Regions from separate parts of the Homo sapiens genome. Here region 2 is linked to region 1. The links are contacts of gene promoters, found by promoter capture Hi-C in human tissues and cell types (Jung and others, 2019). All regions are on one chromosome and are shown on one strand. Each heading gives the region's core, a stretch centred on a gene start or on the middle of the fragment in contact. The rest is flanking DNA. Distances are from core to core; before and after follow the strand shown.

What was found. Contacts are between HindIII fragments. The study calls those that stand out against the background at their distance.
Region 2: a contact is called between a fragment that was not itself captured here and the fragment with the promoter of SUPT3H in region 1, in 1 of the 25 tissues and cell types used here (stomach).

The regions. Positions count from the first base shown.
Region 1 is chr6:45,375,277-45,382,720 of GRCh38, forward strand. It overlaps SUPT3H (SPT3 homolog, SAGA and STAGA complex component), which reads right to left and starts at 2,658. Exons shown (of 11, transcript NM_003599.4): 1 at 2,492-2,658. The region is part of intron 2 of RUNX2 (RUNX family transcription factor 2); the gene reads left to right. RefSeq lists silencers at 2,300-2,579, 2,900-2,949 and an enhancer at 2,590-3,133. The HindIII fragment of the contact is 12,283 bases long and covers 1-7,444 here.
Region 2 is chr6:45,802,438-45,809,665 of GRCh38, forward strand. No RefSeq gene overlaps it. Among named protein-coding and RNA genes, the nearest start is that of CLIC5, 210 kb to the right of the region's middle. The HindIII fragment of the contact is 6,904 bases long and covers 1-5,755 here.

The DNA of each region.
Region 1 (7,444 bases), core at 1,408-3,907:
ACAAGGCTAACAGTAGGGTGACATTATGATGTGGTCCCAATTCGAACATTTTGATAGTGAAAGGGGTTCTATTAAATAAAATAATTGTGCTGGAACAATCAGGCTTTATACTACGACTGTCTCAGAAAAATTAAGATACTATAGTCACCCATAAAAGCACCCCATTCTGATTTGTATATTATGAGCTATTCTCTCCATCTGATTTAACTCGTGAGCTTTAAGTTATTGCTCCAGATCTAACAATTATCTTCAGCCTTAAGACCAAGAGCATCATTTTTTTTTTTAAAGAGACAAGGTCTCCCTCTGCAGCCCAGGCTGGAAGCCTGGCCTGACCATGATTCACTGCAGCCTTGAACTCCTAGGTTCAAGAGATCCTCTGGCCTCAGCCTCCCAAAGTGCTGGGATTACAAGCATGAGCCAACGTGCCTGGCCCAAGGGCACCATTTTACAGACATCAGGCCAAGGTTAAGGGTGCTACCGCTACCTATAAAGGTTTTTTATTTGTTCTTTTAGTTTTATTTTCAAATTTGACTTTATATACACTTGCTTTAAAAAAAAAAAACAGATGCACATATTTCAAGTAAAGTAATTTTGTGAAACATCTATTACCTAATTTCACTTATCTCTCCAAAAGATTTGGATAACCATAAAACTAGTTCTAAAATGTCCTAATGCTCAAGAGTTACAATTTTTCAAATCGCTTTATTACACAAAAGGTTAAAAAAGAAAAAAACTTGAATAAGAGCTGGAAACTTCTCACTGAAAAACCAACCAAAGTGGTAAAAGATAGCAGAAACCGACAATCACAAAATAGTACAATAATGTTTAAAGAAAACTCCAGTTAATACTGTCATAGCTCTCTGAATCTGGCATTAGCTGTACAACCTAGGAGACAACGTTTTGCTTTAATTTGTCAAGATGTAAATAAGTACTAACAGACCCATGGTCTGAACTGCAGTATTTGAATGAAAGGCATTATTTGAATATAATTACAATTCCCTATGGCAATAAATGTTCCAAAGAGCTGGCTTATCTGATTTAAAACTCAACCATATCAAGACTCGGAAGGACTCTCAAAATCTAAATTGTAGCCCTGTGCTGTCCAATGCAGTAGCTACCACTAGCCACATGTGGGTATTTAAACGTAAATCAATTTATTAATTTATGAATAAAATTAAAAATTAAGTTCCTCAGTGACACTTATCACATTTCAAGTGCTGAAGAGCCACTGTGCCTAGGCTACCACTAGTGCCTAAAGGCACAGATTATGGAACATCTCCATCAAGGCAGAAACTGCTAGTGAAAAGTGCAGCCCTAGACTTAGGCATACTTCGCTCCAACGTCCCGAATATCCTGAGATAAGAAACTTTCCATAGCACAATGAAGAGCATTCCATTCTTGCAAAGTACTCTCACGAACTGTTTCTCATAGGCAAATTCAGCCTCTTTGAAACATTCACCAGAAATTCCCCAAGTTTTGTCCTTCAAGTAAATCTTTGCAGGGCGAATTTAATTCCTCTTCCAGAGTCTGCCCTTCACATATACTAAGACCCCAGGTCCTCTCCTTCCAAATACATACATACATATATACACATACATATACTTATATACACACATATGTATATACATATATATACACACACATTTCTTTCTACCGAAATAACTTAACATTTCTATTAGCCTCTTGGAGAAATGCTAATTTATCCACGTGTACAGTAATACTACGTCCAGGATCGTCTGAGTGTCAAATATTACATATCACTGTCTTCATAACTTCACTCTCACGTGTGAGACCAAGTGTCCTGATTCTCTGAGAAAATAAGGTCACAGTCATTCTGAACTCCTAAAACGTGGAGAGCAAAAGCAGAGCTAATATGTACTGAGCAGCACCTGGCGCTGTTCTAAGCGTTTAACGTGTATTTTCTCATATAATCCTCACAATTCTGAAATAGGCTATAAGATCGCCATTTTACAGACCAAAACAAGGCAAAGACAAGCTAAATAATTTCCCCAGGGGTCACAGACGTGAGCTCACCCCACAGAGAACACAGCGGATCTTTTCCTCTTTCTGGATGCTACACTCCCACTAACTACCTAACTCTTCTCTCGCCGTGCCATAAAGCAACAATTTCCCTCTTTAATGATTCCTCCGGCAGCCCCCACACTACCTAGACGACCCGCGCACCCCGCTTCTCAGCACAGCCCAGCCCCCCTCACCCCACGCCCACCCGCCAAAAGGGAGGAGTCGAGAGGCAACTCCACGCTCGGCAGCGGAACCAGGGCGCTGCGCCCGGCCAGCGCCTCCCACAGCCGCCCTCCCTTCAACACTCCGGCGTAGACCACGAAGACCCAGGCAGCCGCCCTCGAGCCGGGGCCAGGGCGTGGCCGGCGCGGGGGCCCAGCGACGCTGGGATCTCCGCTCTGCGTCCCTCCCGGCTCTCTGACGTCTCCCCCGCCCGAATCCCCGCACCGCCCCCCGCAAGCCCTACAACCTCTGCTTTAAGAACCCTTGGAGGCACTGCTGCGCTTCCCGCGAGGAGAATGTGGGGGTGGAGATGGTGCGGTTTCTGCTGCTGCGGCCCGGGACACGCTTGGAAAGGGGCGGGGTGGGGGACTGAGAGTGTGGAGTGTAGAAAGGGAAAAGGTGACTCGGCTGTGTGACGGGGCGATGGGGGGGGTACAAGATGGCGTGAGCCCGACTCTCGGTGGGGCGGGGGTTGCGGAGACTGAGGAGTAAGCGATACGGACGCCCCCCGCACTGGCAGTGCGGGCGCATGCGCGCTTGGCCAGGTGGCGCGCGCTCTCCCAGCCCGAGCGAGCTACTTCCGCCACGCTCGCCGGGGGCGGGGCGTTGTGCGCGGCCTTCAGGGCCCGGCTTGGGCAGCGCTGAGCCACGCGGCGGCGTTTAGAGCTGGGGACGCTGGGAGCGGAGTGGGGACGAGCTGAGATCGGTCAGGGTGTACAGGGTGCAGGCTTGAATTCTTTAGGAATTGGGCCCGAGAGGGCTAGGATTTTTGAAGGATTGGGTGACCGGCACTGGAAGTTGATTTTCAACTCCGAGGAAGAGATTCACCGTTCTAAGCTTCTTTCCAGGAATTGGAGTGAACGGGATCTTAATGGGATTGCGCGTTTACAATGGTGAAGGGAAACGGAGGGGTCTGAACGCTCCCCGCAGGGCCGCAGTACAGGCGTGTGGATGTGGAACCCTTTCTGGGACGGCGAAACCAGCTCTTACGCCGCTTCCGCGCGCCATCACTCCCTACCCTGACCTCGCACAGAATCTGTTTCATTAATCTGCTATTAATGTTTTTTCCCCAACTCATGTTACTAGACGCAGGCGTTTAACTACCATGTTTTGTTATTGAAAACTTTTTCTACTTGAAGGCTTTTTTTTTTTTTTGGACGATTCTGTGTTTAGATTTTGGCCTGTTCCTCATTTTAAAATCTTGCACCCCCAGTATTGTACTGTACATTCTGTCCTGCCACATTTAATTGATATAGATGTAGTTCTTTAAATAATACAGTAGTCGTAAGACAATGCTTTCAGTCTTTCACTCTTTATATTATATGAAGTCTTATTTATATTTAACATTCTTATTGCCTGCTTAGAGAAGAAAACTGGTTATCCATGCTCACCTTCACACCTGTGTTGTCAAATACTATAAAATACTGTATTTTATAGGGATTCAAGTATTAACCCTCACCAAGTCTTTTTAAGCATCACTGCTTCAGTTATTTTCTTGCCTATAGATACTGTGAGTTCTGAAATCCCTTCCTTCTATTTGCTTAAATTGTTTAAAATAGCAACTTATTTGGTTATTTCCTCTGTGGATTGTAGTTGAGTCTGCTAGTGTTGTGTTTGATTCTCTTTAATCTCCCCAACGCTTCAATATTTGCCAAATACCTAAAATTCCAAAAGAATAGATATATTTAGGATGTGAGAGCTCAGCTTGATGTGTAAATCAGGGATCAATTCATTGCTGAGCAAAGTGTGCAGTATAAGGGAAAGTAACAGAGTGAGTATGGTGATAACTTCTTACATGGGAAGACTGGTTGAAAGCTCTTTTGAGTACATTACCAAGAAATTAGTTAACAGAAGATTAAGAGAAAAATTAATGTTCACATCTAAAGAAACATAAAAGTAGATCATTTCAATTAAAATTATGTTCAGTTAATGTTATCATAGAAGTTCCTGCACTGGAGTTTCACCTGCATCAGATGAGTACCTGTTTGATCCAGTTTATCAGGATAGAATCCAGATCATCTTATTCTAGGATACTGGTGTCCAGCCTGCATAAAATCACACACAGGCCAGGCGCGGTGGCTCACGCCTGTAATCCCAGCACTTTGGGAGGCCGAGACGGGCAGATCACAAGGTCAGGAGATCGAAACCATCCTGGCCAACATGATGAAACCCCGTCTCTACTAAAAATACAAAAAAGTATCCGGGCGTGGTGGCACGTGCCTGTAGTCCCAGCTACTCGGGAGGCTGAGGCAGGAGAATCGCTTGAACCTGGGAGGCGGAGGTTGCAGGGAGCCGAGATCACGCCGCTGCTCTCCAGCCTGGCAACAGAACTAGACTCCGTCAAAAAAAGAAAAAAAAAAATCACGCACAACAAAAGTTAATGAGAGTGACACATGGAGAAGGGAAACTGAGTTAAGGCATTGATACAGGAAGTTTAAAAATTTATTCTTAGGAAACTGAATTGGGCTGTTGGCAGAGATCTGATTTTTAAAGTCACATGAGTTAACCAGGTTCCTACCTCCTGGAATTTCTTAAAATCCATTTTTGAAAATCTGATTTAGCCATAATTTTGCTCATAGTTTGAGACCATTGCTATATACAAAGGGCCAAAAATATTTTTGCATTACATTCATATCAAATATCCTAAACTATCAATGGTACTAGGGTATCTTAATTATAACAAAGCTAAAACAGCGAAGCTGTTGCTGAAGTTAAGGCTTTGATGACTACCACCTCTCAGAAAAACAAGTGATTTTCCAAGGCATGTGGGGAAAACACATCAGGAGACCAAGTTAATTTATCACTCCACAAAAATGTCTCCATGACCTGGACAAAATTGTTAAAGAAAAATGAAGCATTGTTAGCGTAGACTTTAACGTTCCTCTGGCATGTAATATTCACGTAGACTCACTAGTGCAAAGAGAAAGTGCATGTATCTAAGTAAAAGTGCCCATGGGCATCTTAAAATGATTAGGTAGTAAGCCCACATTCTCAAAAGAGCAGCAGAAGTCATGGCTAATATGGAACCATCTCTCTGATTCCATGGAAGTGGTTTCTTTTTATTATTATTTTTTGAGACAGAGTCTCGCTCTGTCACCCAGGCTGGAGTGCAGTGGCCCGATCTCGGCTCACTGCAACTTCCTCTTCCCCAATTCAAGCGATTCTTCTGCCTCAGCCTCCTGAGTAGCTGGGATTACAGGCGTGTGCCACCACGCCCGGGTAATTTTTGTATTTTTAATAGAGACGGGGTTTCACCATGTTGGTCAGGCTGGTCTCAAACTCCTGACCTTGTGATCTGCCTGCCTCGGCCTCCCAAAGTGCTGGGATTACAGGTGTCAGCCACCGCACCCGGCCAGAAGTGGTTTCTTCTCATGTGGATGCTACAGTGACAGTTCAGGTGACTTGGAAATTCTTTGTTGTTTGAGATTCATAACTCTTACTTGCTAGGATGTTTGTGGGGACTTTTTATTTTCTATTTATCAATTATTTCATCCTTTGCTATATTTGCCTTCTATTTTTAATGCTTAAGTTGTCACCATGGAAATAAACTGGGTAGATTGCATATTGTTTAGAACCGTATATTGCAATTGTTGCTATATTTGTTTTCTGACGTTGAGAACTGTTTTCCAATTGCATTCTCAAAAGTATCTTGTTTTATGTTTAGAGCAAGTTGTTCTGACCAAAAAGATTACTCAGCCCGGTAGTACCTGAGCAAGTCACTTAACATCATTGCACCCCAGTTTTTGTATCTGTGGAATGAGATGATAGAACCAAATGAACTAAAACCTTACAGCCCTAAAATTCTATGTTCCTTCAAAATGGGAATAGCCAAAGGATGGATACTAAAGTTGTGCAGAATAATTTCAGCATTTGTGCTACAAAAATTACAAAAGTATTCAGGGCTTTTCTTTTTTTTTTCTTTTGAGACAGGGTTTCCCTCTCTGTTGCCCAGGCTGGAGTGAAGTCATGCAGTCATAGCTTACTGTAGCATCAACCTTCTGGGCTCAAGCAATCCTTCCACCTCAGCCTCCTCAGTAGCTGGGACTACAGGCATGTGCCACTACACTCAGCTAATTTTTAAATTTTGTGTATAGATGGGGATCTCCCTAGGTTGCCCAGGCTGGTCTCAAACTCCTAGGCTTAAGAGATCCTCCTGCCTCAGCCTCCCAAAGTGCTGGGATTACAGGAGTGAGCTGCCATGCCCTGCCTGATGTTACACATTTCAAAAGAAAAACCAGCGTGAAAAGATGTATCAAATATGCTGATGCACTGCAGGGGGTTGGGGTGCCACAAAATTATTAAGGTGTAATCAAATTGGCTTCCCCTACCTTCCAATTGCATTCATAAGGAAAAGCAGTACAATGATTAGAAAAGAAATGTTAAAAAATTTTACAGTACCAGGTAGCTTGTAGAATTGTAATCATGATCATCCTCTTAGGGACCTATCATTGTAGATTTCACAGTCCAGTGTCTTTTAAAAGTAGTGCTTGGCTGCTGAAAAAATGATTATGTTTTTGAGAGTCAGAATGGTAAGGGAACCATGGAATACCAGAGTTTCAAAGAGCCTTTGAGCTCTTCAGGCACATGAAAACTTAGTTGTTCCCGTTCCCATGGAATCCAATATGTAAAACTCTTGTACTGGAATCAAACAACTTCTACATTTCAACGGATTGTTGTAGGCCTACCATGTACCTGACACTATTCTCGAAGCTGCAGATAGAGCAGTGAACAAAACAGACAAAAACATATGCCATCATCAAACTCACATGCAGAAGTTAGACAATAAAAATAAATGCCTAAAATAAATACCTAAATTATATAGTATGTTAGAAGGTCATGAGTGTTATCAAAAAAGTTTATACAGGAAGGGATGTGGAAGGAGACCAAGCACAGGAGAAATGGGGAAGATGTCATTTTTAAATTGGGCAGTTGAAGCAGGCCTCACTGAGAAAGTAGTATTTGAAGAATGACTTGAAAGTGAAGGAGATACCTGCACATATCTGAAGAAAGAGCATTCCAGACTATGAGAACAACTTGTGCAAACCGTAGGGTGGGGACAGGTCTGGTAAGTTGAAGCAACTGCCAGGAGGCCACTGTAGCTAAAGAAGAGTAACCCAGAAAGAAAATCATGTGATATGAGGTCAGAGAAGCACTAGGCCAGATGGTGAAAGGCCTTGTGTGCCTGACACTGAGAGGCTAT
Region 2 (7,228 bases), core at 1,054-3,553, 430 kb after region 1:
GTGCTTAAAAAGGGATTTTTGAAAGATTTTATGGGAGGCTTTCCAGCATAAAATATGCCTACCTTCTGTCACTCAAGAAGCCCAATGGTTTCTCAATGTATTATGGAAGTAAAGGAATTTCAAAGGAGCAGAAGTATATTGATGGAAAGATTAAGTAATGTCCTGGTAGTTGTACTAAATGGTCTTGAAAACTCCTCCCAATATCCTTCATTCACCTACCACCAAATCTTCAAACCTTCCTGCAGCTTTTCCTTTCTATCTTTCAAGGGAGAAAATGTTGTTTACTCCATCAGAGGTCAATGCCTCTACCTGTGCTCTGGACCTGGGCTGTCCAATATGGTAGCCAGCGGCCACATGTGACTATTCGCACTTGAAATGTATCCAGTCTGAGTGGAAATATGCTATAAGTGTAAAATAGGATAAAAATGAATGTAAAATATCTCATTCATAATTTCTTACATTGATTACATGCTGAAAGGGTAATATTTTGAATATTTTGTGTGGGGCATAATATGTTATCGAAATTAATTTCACTTCTTTGTTTTTACTTTTGCTAACATATTTACCTAGATAATTAAAATTACATATATGGCTTGCATTGTGCTCTAGATGCAACATTCCCTGGGGGCTCAGGAATATTACTCTTCTAATATTGTCATTTCTTTCCCATATCTTCAACCCATCACTGTTGTGTGGATCATTGTGTTAGCTTTCCACTTGGGCAAATGGCTCTCCAAACAAAAGCAAACTAAATCCTCCCTTGACCTCATCACCCTCACTAGTTTCCACCCTCTCCCATATACCGTCATTAGCCAAGCTTCCTGAAAGCACTGCCTACACAGTCTGCCTCCGCTTCCTCATTAGCCCATCTCAGTCTGTATTCTCCTCACCGCAAGCCAAAACCTGCTATTGCTAAAGTGATACATTGTCTCTCCAGTGCAAAATCCAAAGGGTACATCTTTCCTGACCATCTCTGCAGTGTTTGACATAATCGATCACTCCCTGCTTCTTAAAAGTCTCTTCTCTTGGCCTTCACCTTGGGTGCCTGGCTCCCCTGCTCTCTCTGGCCATTTCTGCTCATCCTTTTTGTTGGACTTACATCTTTCACACCACCTCTAAATGCTGGGGCACCTTAGGCTTTCACCCTGGTCTTTTTCTCACAATATATTCTTTCCTTAGACAACCTCTTCTAATCTTATGAGTTTAAACATCATTTATGCCGAAAACTCCCAATCTAAAGACACCAACTGCAGACATGGAAATACCCAGACCTCTCTTCTGCACTCCACACTCACATCTAAGTGCCGAATTGACTCACATCTAAGTGCCAAATTGACTCTTAATTTAGGACTCTCTGAAACATCCCAAACTTACATCCAAAAAAGAAGTTGTAGGCTTCTCCTCCAAAGTTTGTTCTCTTTCATCTCAGGAAAGGTTATCCCCATTCACTCAAGTTCTCATGTCAGAAACCTGACAGTTTATCCTTAATTCTTACACCTCCTTCAGTATACAAATATCACCAAGTATTCTCAATTACACCTCCAAAATGTGTCTCAAATCCATCAGCTTCTCTCCACACCCTGAGGAAGGGTCCATCCTTTCTTCCTGGACTACTGCTAGTGTCTCTTAACTAATCTCCTTGCTATTGCTCCCACAATCTGCTCTTCATATTGTAGCCAGACTGACCTTTAAAAACAAGAATTGGACCATGTTACTCTCCTGCTTAAAAACCCCTGATGGTTCTCCATGGACTTAGAATAAAACCCAGAGTCTTTAATGTAACATGCAAGAGCCCACATGTTGAACCTGTTGGCCACGGCTACACTCTGGTGGCATTGCCCCCACTCACACACACACACTGGCCCTCCTGGAGCCACATTGGCCCTTCATGTCCTTGCAGCTATAGTATGAGTCCTGCCTGAGGGATTGCACATATGATAGCCCCTTTCTTCACCTAACTTACTCTTCCAGCATCCTTCACTTCCTTCAAGAGGGATTCTATGATTCCTGCAGCCTAAATTAATCCTTACCACACCCCATTAGTGTCTCCTATAGTGCTTTGTACTTTTTCTTCATAGCACTTCTCACAATTATGCAATTATATGCTATATCTACATCTCTTCCCCAATAGTTTAAAGCTTCCAAACTGGGCTGCATCTTACAAACTATGTGTGCCTGTGATGAAGTTGTATTTCTTACAATTGATAATGTCTTAGATCAAAGAAACAAGGCATTTATCTGTGCTTATTTGTTAGTATCTGTTTCTTCCACTTGGCTCTAGCCATGTGTGGGCAGGGACTATGTCTCCTTGGTTGTCCCTCATATTCCCCAAGCTGCCAGGACTGTGCTACACAGGAGGTATTGTATGAACATTTGTGGAATGAATGATTGAATGAAGGAAGGAGGGAAGGCAGGATATGCACACTGTGTTGTGGCCACTGCAGCCTCCTATTCTCTCCAAATGTGTCTCCTACTATTCAAGTCCATAGGCTGTGCACTCAGTAGAGGAATAACTGCTCCATGCCCTCTTCTTTTGATTTTGTCTTTCCTATTCCAACACATACACTAAGACTGAACATGATTTCCAGCTCCTCTAAGAGGACTTCTCCCAAAATAATGAACTTTGCTTAACTTCCTGAGTTAGAACCCAATCAGATCTTGTCCAAGATGTCTTTTTTACAGGAAATATTATAGCCCCAGGGAGGAGACACACCTGGGTTCAAATCTCAGCTTTCTACCTGTGTGAGCTTTAGTGTAATATTCAGTTTTCTATTCTATAAAGTGGGAATAGTAACAGAAAACCTACCTCAAGGGGTTGTGGAAGGATTGAACAGGATATTGAGAGTAGGGTGTCCAGCTAGCATAAGAGCATTAGTGAATGCAAGTTATGATTATTATTTGATCTATGTATTCTTAATTGTCATGGTATTTTTAGGGCTCAAAGGAAAGGACCATAAGTTAAAATCCCTCATATTCCTACTGAGCGAAGTTTATTGCTTGTTTTGGAGATATATAAGATGCATCAATTTTATTAAAGCTCCCTTTCAGCCAATAATTGCTGTCTGTGGTCATTTCTGTTTGGCAGAAGCCTCCTTCACACATTGGCCAGAAAGTCTAACAGCCATCCCACCATAAACTCTCTCTTGCTCGTTGCCCATCCATCTTACCTAGCCTCCTTCTACCTACTACAATATAGTGGAAAGACTCATAAGGCAGGTAGTGTCAGAGCCAGATCTTGAACCCAAGATCATGGTTCATGTATTAGTCTGTTTTCACACTGCTGATAAAGACATACCTGAGACTAGGCAATTTACAAAAGAAAGAGGTTTAATTGGACTTACAGTTCCACATGGCTAGGGAGGCTTCACAATCATGGTGGAAGGAAAGGAGGAGCAAGTCATGTCTTACATGGATGGCAGCAGGCAAAGAGAGAGCTTCCGTAGAGAAACTCCTGTTTTAAAAACCTCTTGAGACCAATTCACTATCATGAGAACAGTATGGGAAAGACCTGCCCCCCATGATTCAATCATCTCCCACCGAGTCTCTTCCACAACATGCGGGAATTATGGGAGCTATGAGATGAGATTTGGGTGGGGACACAGAGCCAAACCATATCAGTTAGTGTTACATGTTGTTCACTCTCCTGCTTCCTATGCTCACTCTTTATTTTTTCCTTACTGTTAGAAAGTAGGGAGCTAGAATTTGAACTTAAGTCTCTCATAATTTTTTAGATTGAGTAGGCAAGGAAGATCTCAAAACAGGTGATACTTAAGCTACTATCAGAGTGACAGGAAGGAACCAGGCATGAGAAGATCAGAAGACAGAGCAGAGAGAATTGCAAGTGCAAAGGTCCTGGGGTGGGAATGAACTTGGTGTACTTGAGGAACAGAAAACAGACAAGTAAGGTGGAGTTGACAGAGGCTGTGTGAGCCTGCACTCGGGGTCACTGGCTGTGGGTTTGAGAGAGGAAGTTGTCAGCTTGAGCTAGATGATGTCAATAGAGATGCAGAGAAGTAGATTTGTTTGAAATGTACTTTGGAGATAGAATCAACAATACTGGCAGTAGATTGGTGGTAAGAGAAGGGTAGGCTCAAGGGTGACTCTCAGTTGGGTCTGGCTTGAGCAACTGGGTGGATGGTGATGCCATGTACTGGGATGACGAATACTTGAAGAAATAGATTTGAGCATATGTTTGTGATCTCTCTGGGATACATCAGTGATGCCAGACAAGTAACTGAATATGCTAGTCTCAAGTTCAAACACAAAGTTAGAAACTAGAGATGCATGTTTTAGAGTCATCAGTTTATAGATGGCATTGAGAGCCATAGGAACAGATGAGAATGTCTAGGGAAGGAGGATAGAGAGAAACAAGAAGAAGGCCCCGGAGAGAACACTGACATGATTGGTAGGTGAGTAAGAGGAATGGAACTAGGGAAGGAATGGCCAGAAAGGAAAAGTAAAACAAGGAGAGGATGGGTTTCACACCAAATCTAGGAGGAAATCATGTTTCAAGAAGAAGGGATCAGTCTTGTGTCAAATGCTACTACAAAGGTGATGGAGACGGATTAAAAAAAATGTGTCTATGGAATCTGGCTTCATGAAAGGTTGTGGATGACTCTGACAAGAGAAGTGTAGGTAGAGTGAAGGGAAGTGACAGATTGCCTGCATAGCTAATATTTTTAAAGAACTTATTTTAAGGAATAACAAAGAAATGGGAATATGAGTCAAGAGGTCCTTTTAGTAGATGGGAGACAGGAGGGGCTGTTTTCTGATGAGAATGATCTAGAAGTAGAGAGATATATGACACAGGAAAGACTAAGACCCACATCTCTCCCTTCTCTAAAACTGGTGCCTTTAGTACTTATTTGCAGAGTCACAGTCCCTGTGGCCTTTGCTTGCTTCTCCTCCATATTGAAATTAGCTTGGAGAGGGTGCATTGATTCCTTCAGATCAAATGAGAGTCTCTTTTTGTTTCTCTTTGCCTAGACATTCATGTGACCTTCACAGACAAGTGTTTACTGGAGTTACTCAGAACTGAGCAAGGACAGCTTTGGTCTGATAAAAGCACACTCCCCACACTGGCTCAGAACCCTCAACCTTCCCTTTGAACACAATATAAATGCTACTGTGGACCTCAGAGGTTAATCCATTACAACAAGGCAATTAAATTTAGGGTCTGTTTGGAAGATAAAAAGCAGCAAGTAATAACCAGGTCAGAAAACTCAGCCATGATGGATTTCTATAATTTCCTCTGACTTCACGGAGCTGCGTCTGGTGACCTGAAGCAGGATGGTGTGACTGCCCGGTGGTGTCAGAAATGTGAGGGGGAGATTATTTTTATTAAACTAGTTATTTCTGAGGCATTGACCTCTCTTGCTTCCCCTTTCTCTCTCAAGAAGGTCATTTGCCAGCTGGTAATACATTTAACCCTTAAGCATACAGTCAACCTCAGGTTAGCAAGGAGGATCATTTTACAAAGGCAAGCGAATGAAACTGATGTTTCTCCTGGTTAGTGTTCTGAGTTTTGAATTTGGGCTACTTCCCCCTTTCTTGTTAAGCCACTTTGGTTTAAGTGCCTAACCTTCTCTGGTGGATTTTGTATAGATTTTCCAGTAATAAGATGGTTAGTTTGTCCTCATCTAGAGTGCTTTACCCATGAGAAAGAAGAGAAAATTGCTCTATGTCAGACTGGAGCTGGGATGAGAACCCTCAGGCCCTGATTTATTGCTCTTCAGCTTTGTTCCCTCCACTTCTGTCTCACACAGCGTGTGGTCATCCTGAATCATTCGTGCCACAAATGTTTCTGGACACCCACTCTGCCTGTGACACTGCACTAGGCACCATGGCAGAGTGTTTGACTACATGGCCCCTGCCCTCTGGGAACTGGTTCCTGCTCTATTTCAGCGGGGAGTGCAAGGAGGTTGCTGACACAGTCATTTTAGGGGTTTGTTTTCTCTGCGCCAAATTGCCCTGTCTCATTAATGACAGGCTCAATTTCCATCAGGTTCCTTGATGAATCTTGCAAAACATCCAAGAGGGAGCTTCCTTCCAGTGCAGAAATGTAATTCCCTGTGGATATGTGTTGGCATCCGCCAACTCAGAGGCATAATGAAGTTAATTTTGAGGGAAAGCAAACACAAATATAACGGTGATCGGAAGAGCAGCCACAACTGTCTGAGCCATTTATTTAATGGACTAATTAGCTTATTAAGTACTTTGCACTGTCTTCTTTTCCACAAAGGATTTAAAGAGATGATTGTCTGGCTCAAAGGACTGGTTTTGGATTTGTGATCAGGACACTGAGTTCGAGTCCCAGTTCTGATCATCTGAGCTCTGCCTCTAGCTCAGCCTGTATGGCCCCAGTGTCATTAAACCATTTGTCTTATCTACTTTATGGGACTGATGGGAGGATAAAATGAGATAATAATACACATGAAAGAACCTTGTTAAAGAATAAAGCGCTATGCACATGTTAGTTATTATTTCAGAAACCAAAGTTAACAAGAGATAAAAATCTTAAATCTGGGAGGAATTTTTCTATGGAGCTAGTTGGCAGGTCACTTCTTTTTCTCATTTCTTCTTTGTTTGCATCTCAGAGAATTAGCAACCAGATAGGAAGGAAATGCCATTATTAGAATGTGGGCTGCCTGAGTGGTGGGGAGGTGCCAGCCGAGGCATTTTTAACAGTGTGGCTTCCAGGGCTCTGATTTGCATACTTGCAGCTGTCTAGCCCACTGATGACCACATATACACCCAAGTGATATGTGTATCTATATTATGCTTCAGTTTGCCAAGGCATCTTTGATTTTTATCTTCAGGTTCATTCTTTTGGGTAAAGGCATCAACTTCAAACAAATAAACAGATAGCTCAGAATAGTGCTTAGGTGTGTTCAGAGGAAAAATCTCTTAGAGAGAGTGGGCATCAGCAGACCAGGCTTTGCCACTAATATTCGTATTGTCCTAGCTGCGAGAGGCCACGCCTTGCATCTGATAGGAACTGGCAAGTAGCTCAGTAGGTTGTATTTTGAGAAATCCATCTTAGAAATTTCTTATTTGAAAATTAAAATGGCACACACACATACATACATATATATACATATATTTTTTTTTCCTCTCTCTCTCTCTCTTAAATTTCCAGTCTTTTCTGTTTGTCCACCAACAAATAGGTGTTTACCAATTGGTTTTTCATCAATATTCTTCAAGTGTTTCTCGAAGAGTGGTCCATTAA